Regions from separate parts of the Homo sapiens genome. Here all the other regions are linked to region 1. The links are contacts of gene promoters, found by promoter capture Hi-C in blood cells and fetal thymus (Javierre and others, 2016). All regions are on one chromosome and are shown on one strand. Each heading gives the region's core, a stretch centred on a gene start or on the middle of the fragment in contact. The rest is flanking DNA. Distances are from core to core; before and after follow the strand shown. Region 1 holds the start of ZNF428 (zinc finger protein 428). Region 2 holds the start of IGFLR1 (IGF like family receptor 1). Region 3 overlaps ETFB (electron transfer flavoprotein subunit beta).

Region 1 (3,355 bases), core at 409-2,908:
CAATCTCGACTCAATGCAACCTCTGCCTCCAGGGTTCAAGTGATCTTCGTGCCTCAGCCTCCCAAGTAGCAAGGATTACAGGCACCCCCCATAACCCCTGGCTAATTTTTGTAGTTTTAATAGAGGCAGGGTTTCACCATGTTGCCCAGGCTGGTCTCAAGCTCCTGACCTCAGGTGATACACCAGCCTCGGCCTCCCAAAGTGCTGGGATTACGGGCGTGAGCCACCGCGCCCAGCCCCATGTACTCTTCATGCCAGTTACAACCACCACCAACTCATGGCCAATCCCGATTTATCCATAACTCCAGTCAAATGTGTAAGTGCTATTATGGAGAGATCAGGAAAAGCCTCTCAGATTGACATCTGTACCAAGATATGAATGGTGAGCACAAGAGTAGGTATTCAAAGGTCAGAGGGAAAAGCATTTTCAGGCGGAGGGAACGGCAAGAGCAGAGGCCCGAGCTGGTAAAGAGTTTGGGGTAAGGTGGAGCTGGACAGAAATGGAGGGAGGAGGAAGTAGGTGGGGTCAGAAAGATAAGCACGGCCAGACCAGGTGTATAGCCCTGAGGCCATGATAAAGATTTTTGGATTTTTTTTTTTTCCTAATGGGATCCCTTTGGGGGAGTTTTAAGCCAGAATGTGACAAAGTCACTTACAGGAAGACTGGAATGTAGCCATAGTTGAACTCTAACATCGTCTATAGAACCATTTCCCGTCTCCAGTTAGGTTCTAGGCATACTAAGCTGCTCTTGCTTCCTCAATCAAAACATGCGCTTCTATTTTTTTTTTTTTTTTTTTGGCCTCTGGGCCTTGGCGCTTGCAGTTCATTCTGCCAGACCCATTCCCATTCTAGTTGGCTCCTATTCGTACTTGGCTTAAGGATCACCACCTCCTGGAAGTCTTTCTAGAACCAGAGGCCGGGGCAAGCGCCTCTTAGGCTCCCACAGCCCCCTGTGTTCCTCACTCCAGGTCTGACCTTCTGGGTAGTAGTTGTCTAATTAGGTGCGTATCTCCTTCGACTGGGGTGCCGTGAGTACAGGAGTATGGTTCACTGCAGAAACCACAGAATCCGCCAGCATGGGGCCTGACACCTAGGAGATCAATAAACCTTTATCCTGGTTGGGAGGGGTCCTGGCCCTCGTGCCCTCTCTCAGGATGCAAACTGATCCCCTACGAAGACAAGGCTACCCACTTCGCGTCAGTCTGCAGTCCCTGCGCGCATGCGCTTTGCTCAGGTTGCCCCCGCCATATGCTAATCACTGCGCTCTGGAGTAAGGCCCCTCCGGGGAATATGCAAATCACTCCTTCCAGTGCGGGAGGCCTTTCATTGTCCCGCGCTAGGATTATGCAAATAAGCAGGCCTCGGGCCCAGGATCCAGTCCGAACTAGCGCCCTCCACCCCCAGCGCATCCCAGTTTTGTAAGGCGCGTTCCTGCCCCGCACACGCACGCGCGAACCCTTCAGCTTCTTGTTCCTTTGGGCCGCGGGCTGTACCAAGTAAACCCAGGCAGCGAGGGGCAAAGCACGGCGCCCCCCGCGCGGGTCTCGTCGACGGCCCGACGCGCATAGCCCCTCTTCCCACAGCGCTACAGGACTAGTCCGTCTCGCCGCGCAAGCGCCCTAGGCTCTTCACGCCCCCTGCGCGCTGTCCTACCCTACTTGCGACGCAGGCGCAGAGGCTGGGCGTGCAGCCGCCGCCGCAGAGCCGGAGCGGGGGCCGCCGGCGCCGGTGAGTGTCCCGGGCAGGGGTGCGCGAGGCATGCCGGGAAGCGGGCGCTACGGCCCCGCTGCATGATGGGAGCGACGACTCCCGTCACCGGGGAGCCGGCGGTCTGGGGCCGTGGTGACCCGAGGGCTTCTTTTTCTCCCCCTACGCGTTTGTGCCGCCCTGGGGCATCCTGGGAGAACCGAGCGCTCCGCCTTGAAGCGCTGTGGGAGTCGGTCCGCTAGTCGTAGGCCTGGTGCATCCTGGGAAAGAGTGTCCCAGATCCTTGTCGAGACCGGTTCCTTTTATCCCACACCTGCCGCTGACCGTCCTGGAGGCTTGGAGCGCTTCCACACGGGGAGTCTGGGAAGGTGGTCGCTATAGGCCTAAGGCATCCTGGGAAGAACTGCCACAACGAATTGTGGGAACTGGCCGTTATTGTCCCGTAGTGGAAGGTTTTGCCCTGGTCTCTTTGCTCGAGCATTGGAACGGGTGCCTATTGTGTTCACGCGGGGCATCTTGGGAATTGACTGCTATAGGCCCAGGGCATTGTGGGGTCTCCAGCACTGTGTTTGCCTTTCAGTTTGGCTGCCATAGGCGTGGTAGGAGTGGGACTTGTGAACCAAGGGATGGCCCTACCTGACGTCTGGAATACTCTGGAAGGGGCCTTGTGTGACGTGGGCTTGGAAAAGTGTAGGCTGATGGGCATTGTCTCCTGGTAACTTCAGGGAATGTCTTGATTGTCCCAGGTGTGTGGTTGCCGTATAAAATATACAATGTCTAGTTAAATTTGAATTTCAGATAAACAATTATATCCAAAAGATACAACCTTTTAGAAAAGTATGTCCCAAATATCACATGGAACATAGCTATATTAATTCTTTGGGCTAGTTGCAGTGATACCAATACTTTGGGAGGCTAAGGCAGGAGGATCGCTTGAGACCAGGAGTTCAAGACCAGCCTGGGCAATATAGTGAGACCCCCGTCTCTACAAAAAAAAAAAAAAAAAAAAAAAGTAAAAATTAAGCCTGGCATGGTGGCGCATACCTGTAGTCCCAGCTGCTCTCCTAGGGGCTAGTAGGGTACCTTGAGCACAGGAGTTTGAGGTTACAGTGAGCTAACCTCCCAACCTGGTTATGGGGGAGTACATGAGTTAAGGCCTGGAAGCCCCTTTCCTACAGATCACCCTACTGCACTCCAGCCTGGGCAACTGAGCGAGACCCTGTCTCTTAAAAAATATAAATAAGTAGGCTGGGCGCGGTGGCTCACGCCTGTAATCCCAGCACTTTGGGAGGCCGAGGCGGGTGGATCACGAGGTCAGGAGATCGAGATCATCCTGGCTAACACGGTGAAACCCCATCTCTACTAAAAATACAAAAAATAGTCGGGCGTGGTGGCAGGCGCCTGTAGTCCCAGCTACTCGGAAGGCTGAGGCAGGAGAATGGCGTGAACCCAGGAGGCGGAGCTTGCAGTGAGCCGAGATCGTGCCACTGCACTCCAGCCTGGGCGACAGAGCAAGACTCCGTCTCAAAAAAAAAAAAAAAAAAAAAAAAAAAGCCGGGCATGGTGGCACGCGCCTGTAGTCCCAGCTACTTGGGAGGCTGGGGCAGGATAATCGCTTGAACCCAGGAGGCAGAGGTTGCAGTGAGC
Region 2 (3,355 bases), core at 348-2,847, 7.9 Mb after region 1:
ACTTCCGGGAGTCATGCTGTCGCCAGTATGAGATGGGGTATGGTAGTTCAAGGGTGGGATGGGCACTTGGAATCCCAGACTTTGAATGCGTGGTAGGGGCTGTCAGTGACAATGGCTTCCTCCATCTCTCTACCCTCTATGCAGGGAATGTACCCGAGGTGGCTTCTGCAACTTCATGCATCTGCGGCCCATTTCCCAGAACCTCCAGAGGCAGCTCTATGGGCGGGGACCCAGGCGCAGGTACCTCAGGACCAGCCTGCTATGTCTCCTCATGTCCTAAGGCCCCTATATCCTCAGATGAGCCTAACCCTAAGCCCCAGTAACCACGTTCCCAAGAATCTTTTTTTTTTTTTTTTTTTTTTGAGATGGAGCCTCACTCTGTTGCCCAGGCTGGAGTGCATTGGCACCATCTTGGTTCATGGCAACTTCCGCCTCCCGGGTTCAAGCAATTCTCTGCCTCAGCCTCCCAAATAGCTGGGATTACAGGCACCTGCCACCATGCCCGGCTAATTTTTGTGTTTTTAGTAGAGATGGGGTTTCACCATCTTGGCCAGGCTGGTCTGAACTCCTAACCTCGTGATCCACCTGCCTCACCCTCCCAAAGTGCTGGGATTACAGGCGTGAGCCACCACTCCCGGCTGACTGTTTTTTTTTTTTTTTTTTTTTTTTTTTTTTGAGACGGAGTTTTGCTCTTCTTCCGCAGGCTGGAGTGCAAAGGCGCAGTCTTGGCTCAGTGCAACCTCTGCCTCCCAGGTTCAAGCAATTCTCCTTTCTCAGCCTCCCAAGTAGCTGGGATTATAGGCACCTGCCACCATGCCTGGCTAATTTTTGTATTTTTAGTAGAGATGGGGTTTCACCACGTTGGCCAGCCTGGTCTCGAACTCCGGACCTCAGGTAATCCACCCATCTCGGCCTCCCAAAGTGTGGGGATTACAGGCGTGAACCACTGCGCCCGGTCATTCCCAAGACTCTTATACCCTAAGAGTAGTTCTGAGCTCCATCTGGAGACCAGTACCTAAGTCCCAATCCCCAAACCAGCCTGAACCCCTAATCCACGACCAGCCTGGATTGCCACCCCTGATACTGGCCACTGAGTTCCCCTGATACTGGCCACTGAGGTCGTGTCTTAGAACTCTAGTTATTTCAGCACCCTCCTGCCTCATCCCAGAGCAGAGAGGCAGGCCTGCAGGATCTCTGCACCACTCCTCAGGGTTCTAACAGAACTCTCAACGCTCCTATTCCCAGGTCACCCCCGAGGTTCCATACTGGCCACCATCCCCGAGAGAGGAACCATCGGTGTTCCCCTGATCACTGGCATGGCCGCTTCTGAGGCCCTGGCCCCCTTACCCTTCACCCCCAACAGGGACAGATGTTCCTGGCAGGACCTCTCCTCAAAGCCCCCTTCACTCTCCTGCCCCATCCTTCCCAGGCTCCCGGGCTCCATAATGTAATCTGTTCAGCATGGAGACCTTCTTCTACCGCCCCTGTCTTAATAAAGCTGCGTGTTTCACTTCGGCATCAACTTGCTTTTGCTGTGGTTTGGCATTTCCCTCCACCCACACATGTGACGAAAAGGGGAAACAAGACTGGGTCCTGGCCACAACTTCAGCTGAGGAACTTGGCACGGCCAGCTTGGGACCCAGGACCCTAACGGTACTGGTAGGGTGGGGACACCTTTGTGCTGAAAACCTTAGCACCTCCATCTGAGGCTTATTCAAGGGGGAGAGACCTGGTTGTGGCAGGTGGGAGGAGCCCTAGCCCCAAGGAGATTAGGATTCAAAGGTGAGGTGAGGTGCTGGGAGGTGGTCTCCAGCCAGTATGGGGCTGACTCCTCCGTGCCTGCCGAATTGTGATGGGAGTTAGTAATGCCTTACACTTAAACACTGAGTTTACTGTATGTGAGGTGCTGTTTTCAGCACTTTAGTTTGTTTTTGTTTTTTTTAAGGAGTTTCATTCCTGTTGCCCAGGCTGGAGTGCAATGGCACGATCTCAGCTCACTGCAGCCTCCACTTCCCAGGTTCAAGCAATTCTGCCTCAGCCTCCCAAGTAGCTGGGATTTACAGGCATGCGCTACCACGCCCGGCTAATTTTGTATTTTTAATAGAGACAGGGTTTCACCATGTAGGCCAGGCTGGTTTTGAACTACTGACCTCAGGTGATCCACCCACCTGGGCCTCCCAAAGTGTTGGGATTACAGGCATGAGCCACTGCGCCCGGCGGCCAGTTTTTTTTGTTTTTAGAGATGAGGTCTTGCTGTGTTGCCCAGGCTGGTCTGTAATTCATGGCTCAAGCAATCCTCCTACCTTGGCCTCCCTAGTAGCAGGGACTACAGACGTGAGCCACTGCACTTGGCAAAGTGCTTTGCTGTTTTTTTTTTTTTTTTTTTTTTTTGTAAAGATGGGGTTTCATTTTGTTGTCCAGGCTGATCTCTCGAACTCCTGGGCTCAAGTGATCCTCCTGTCTTGGCCTCCCAAAGTGTTGGGATTACAGGCATGAGCCACCACACCCAGCCCCTGCTTTACTTCTAATGACGGTTCTAATTCTCCACAATAACCCTATGAGACAGGTGCTATCATTGTCTTATTTTAGGGATGGAAAAGGGAGGGTGGGTGGGTGAGGACACGGCAGAGGTGGGATATGCATTCTTGCAATCTAGATCCGCAGCCCTGTTAGTCCCCTAGTGGCCTTGTGGGCTTCTCTGATAACCGGCTCAGTTGGGGGATGAGGGCTCGGGGGTAGATTCCCGGCTTCCGAAGAGGCGTGAGAATTCTGTTCCCCCACATCACCGCGTCCTTTCTTCTGCCCGATTTCCCCGGAAAGTGTAGCAGAGGCGCTGTGTTTGGAAGTCCCGCTATCACGGCCCCCCAGATGGGGCCTGGACGATGCCTCCTGACGGCCTTGTTGCTTCTGGCCCTGGCGCCACCGCCGGAAGCCTCCCAGTACTGCGGCCGCCTTGAATACTGGAACCCAGACAACAAGTGCTGCAGCAGCTGCCTGCAACGCTTCGGGCCGCCCCCCTGCCCGGGTGAGAATCCGAGACCGAGCCTTGCTTGGGCGGAGCTTGCAGGTGATAGGGAGCGGGGAAGGGGCGAGGTCTGTGGGCTACGGGCCAGAGAGGCTTGCTTAGGGGTCTAAGCGGTGGGCCTTATGCAGATCAGACAGGGATGGCAGGCAGAGCCTGTGCAGATAGTGCGGGCTACCGTAGGGCAACAGCGAATGGATATGGCTGGAGAGGCGGGATAGGGGCCGCGTGGAAAGGGTGGGCTTTATGTAGAGAAGCCGGGAGTGGGCGGAGCTTCGTGCGGAGCAGGCTGGAGGGGGGTGAAAAGGCGAGCCCGGAGAAAAGTGACAAGAC
Region 3 (3,355 bases), core at 339-2,838, 7.7 Mb before region 1:
TGACGAAACCCCATCTCTACTAAAAATAAAAAAATTAGCCAGGCGTGGGCCGGGCGCGGTGGCCCACACGTGTAATCTCAGCACTTTGGGAGGCTGAGGCGGGTGGATCACAAGGTTAGGAGATTGAGACCATCCTGGCTAACACGGTGAGACCTTGTCTCTACTAAAAATACAAAAAATTAGCCAGGCGTGGTGGCAGGCGCCTGTAGTCCCAGCTACTGGGGAGGCTGAGGCAGGAGAATCGCTTGAACCCAGAAGGTGGAGTTTGCAGTGAGCCAAGATCATACTACTGCACCCCAGCCTGGGCAACAGAACAAGACTCTGTATCAAAAAGAAAGAGAAAGAGAGAGAGAGAGAGAGAGAGAAAGAGAGAAAGAAAAGAGAAGAGAAGAAAATCCCTCTTGCCTGCAGTGGACAACAAATAGGAAGACTGGCTCTCCTAACACCGTGGGCACACGTAGCCTCTTTCAGAGTCTCACAGTTCCCAAGACAGATTTGGGGTTAGACCCGTGGTCCTGCCACTTCCATGCTCAGTGGCCCTGGCCAAGGTACTTGGCCTCTCTGTGCCTCAGTTGCCTCATCTGTAAAATGAGAGGTAATGGCAGTAACCAACCTCACAGGCTACTAGGATGGTCAAACGAGTTAATGCATATAAAACCCTTGACTCGTTGTCTGCATGGGTCAGTGCTGCTTTTAAAAAAATTTTTTTTTTCTTTTCTTTTTTTTTTTTTGAGATAGAATCTGGTCTGTCACCCAGGCTGGAGTGCATTGATGTGATCCCTGCTCACTGCAACCTCCACCTCCCGGGTTCAAGTGATTCTCCTCCCTCAGCCTCCCAACTAGCTGGAATTACAGGCATGTGCTAAAACGCTCGACTAATTTTTGTATTTTTAGTAGAGATGGGGTTTTACCATGTTGGCCAGGCTGGTCTCGAACTCCTGACCACAAGTGATCCACCCACCTCAGCCCCACAAAGTGCTGGGATTACAGGTGTGAGCCGCCACGCCCAGCTTTGAGGCTGTTTTTGATATTGGTGGATATGTCGTCTCTTTAAGAGAAAGCCAGCACTTAATGCTGAATGATTTACCTCAATTATAAAACTTTTTTTTTTTCTTTTTGAGACAAGGTCTAGCTCTGTCACCCAGGCTAGAGTGGTACAGTCACAGCTCGCTGCAGCCTCGACCCTCCTGGGTTCAAGCCGTCCTCCCACCTCAGCCTCCTCAGTAGCTGGGACTACAGGTGCACGCCACCATGACCTGCTAATTTTGTTTTTTGGTAGAGATGAAGTCTCTCTATGTTGCCCAGGCTGGTCTTGAAATCCTGGGCTCCAGTGATCCTCCTTCCTCAGTCTCCTAAGGTGCTGGGATTACAGGCATGAGCCATCATTATTTAAAAAACAAACAAGCTATCATTTTTCAGCCCTACCATTGTTTCCTGACTTATGTAATATAACTAAACTGTTTTTGAAGCTTAAAATCAACTCAAGCTTAATTGAGAAGATGAGCTAGTTTGTTTCCTCAGGTGTGTGTGCGTGCGTGTGTGTGTGTGTGTCTGGAAAGTTCTTACCCTTTCTCCTCAGGAGTCAGGAGCCTGGGAATCAGGAGCTTAGGGCTGGGAGTTCTGCCAGAGCAAGAGCAAGATGTGGCTTGAGGCCCTTCAGAAGCCTCCCTGACTCACAGCAAGAAGCTTGGGGCCTCTTACTGATGGGTGGATGAGGTTCTTTTCTGTCTTAAAGGGGCAACTCCTATGTTGTGTTTTTTTTTTTAAGAAAAAAGGCCAGGCACTGCGACTCACACCTGTAATCCCATCACTTTGGTAGGCTGAAGCAGGCGGATCACTTTAGGCCAGGAGTTCCAGACCAGCCTGGGAAACACGGGGAAATCCTTTCTCTACAAAAAGTAAAAAAAAAAAAATTAGCCCGGCATGATGGTGCCCGCCTGTGGTCCCAGCTACTGGGGAGGCTGAAGTGGGAGGATCACCTGAGCCCGGGAGGTGGAGGTTGCAGTAAGGCAAGGTGGCACCTCTGCACTCCAGCCTGGGCAACGAGAGAGATGAAAATAACAGTTCTTTCTCTTTCCTCTCCTCTTCCAGCTCCTTCTCCTCTTTCTCCTTTTTCTTTTTCTTTTTCTTTTTTGAGATGAGGTCTTGCTCTGTCACCCAGGTTACATGTAGTGGCATGATCACGGCTCACTGCACCCTTGACCTCCTGGGCTCAGGTGATCCTCCCGCCTCAGCCTCCTGAGTAGCTGGGACTACAGGTGTGTGCCACCATACCTGGCTGTTTTTTTTTTTTTTTTTTTGTTGTTGTTTGTTTGTTTGTTTTGAGGCGGAGTCTTGCTCTGTCGCCCAGGCTGGAGTGCCGTGGCGCAATCTTGGCTCATTACAACCTCCACCTCCTGGGTTCAAGCAATTCTCCCTGCCCCAGCCTCTGAGTAGCTGCAATTACAGGCGTGCACTACCATGCCCGGCTAATTTTTTATTTTATTTTTATTTTTAGTAGAGATGGGGTTTTGCCATGTTGGCCAGGCTGGTCTTGAACTCTTGACCTCAGGTGATCCGCCCACCTTGGCCTCCCAAAGTGCTGGGATTACAGGCATGAGCCACCACGCCCAGCTGTTTTTGTTTTTGTTGTTGTTGTTTGTAGAACCTGTTGCCCAGGCTAGTATCCAACTCCTGGGCACAAGTGATCCTCCCACCTTGGCCTCCCAAATTTCTGGGATTACAGACAGGAGCCACTGCGCCCGGTCTCAGTCCTCCATCTTTTAATGTTACCCTCTCCATGAGGCACAGCCAGAGTGGGAAGCCCCTTATGGGTCCCACCTTCTCATCTCGGATTCTGTCCTGCCTGTGGGAGGAACAGTTACACCCACAGCCCCAGAGAAAAAGGGGCAGGGAAATAGCAAGAGCATCCCAGTGTCCTCACCAGGCTCAGCTGCCACCCGAGATCTGCTCTGGCCAAGCCCTGGGTGGCGGCCACATGGGAGAAGAGGAAGAGGGCAGGCTCCAGGCCAAATGGGGCAGCTCCCTAGCAAGGCTTCTGTGGATGTCCCTGGAGGCTTTTTAAAAATTTGTGCCCCAAACCAAACTCGCCGTCTTCCCGGCTCTGGCTGATGTACTGACTGGAAGCCCCTTTTTGGTGTCATCTTCCCATCACGAACCATGGCCTGTCAGTTGCACCTCCAGAAACCTCTTGCATCTGTCTCTGCTGTCACAGCTGTCTGAGCCACTGTCACCTCTCACTTTGGTGACAAACAGCCACCCAGCTCTCTCCCCACTTCCTCTCATCCTTTTCCAATTTTCTCCACCAAGAATCCAGAATGACCTTATAAAAACTCAGGTTGGGCCAGGAGCGGTG

What was found. The method cuts DNA at HindIII sites, captures the fragments that hold promoters and counts their contacts. A CHiCAGO score of 5 or more calls a contact.
Region 2: the fragment with the promoter of IGFLR1 here is called in contact with the fragment with the promoter of ZNF428 in region 1 in 1 of 17 cell types (naive CD8 T cells); the score reaches 12.7 in naive CD8 T cells.
Region 3: a fragment that was not itself captured here is called in contact with the fragment with the promoter of ZNF428 in region 1 in 1 of 17 cell types (total CD4 T cells); the score reaches 7.8 in total CD4 T cells.

Annotation. Positions count from the first base shown.
Region 1 is chr19:43,617,932-43,621,286 of GRCh38, reverse strand. It overlaps ZNF428 (zinc finger protein 428), which reads left to right and starts at 1,658. Exons shown (of 3, transcript NM_182498.4): 1 at 1,658-1,729. LOC105372411 (a long non-coding RNA gene) reads right to left here and starts at 2,226. Exons shown (of 4, transcript XR_001753942.2): 1 at 1,655-2,226. RefSeq lists a silencer at 1,605-1,844 and an enhancer at 1,649-2,299. The HindIII fragment of the contact is 4,307 bases long and covers 1-3,355 here.
Region 2 is chr19:35,740,694-35,744,048 of GRCh38, reverse strand. IGFLR1 (IGF like family receptor 1) reads left to right here and starts at 1,597. Exons shown (of 5, transcript NM_024660.4): 1 at 1,597-1,653; 2 at 2,826-3,025. The coding sequence starts at 2,869. U2AF1L4 (U2 small nuclear RNA auxiliary factor 1 like 4) reads left to right here. Exons shown (of 6, transcript NM_001040425.3): 4 at 1-37; 5 at 145-240; 6 at 1,246-1,522. The coding sequence ends at 1,330. RefSeq lists a silencer at 1-79 and enhancers at 1,415-1,844, 3,192-3,301. The HindIII fragment of the contact is 10,043 bases long and covers 1-3,355 here.
Region 3 is chr19:51,357,777-51,361,131 of GRCh38, reverse strand. All of the region lies in intron 1 of ETFB (electron transfer flavoprotein subunit beta), which reads left to right. Among named protein-coding and RNA genes, the nearest start is that of ETFB, 6.9 kb to the left of the region's middle. The HindIII fragment of the contact is 200 bases long and covers 1,489-1,688 here.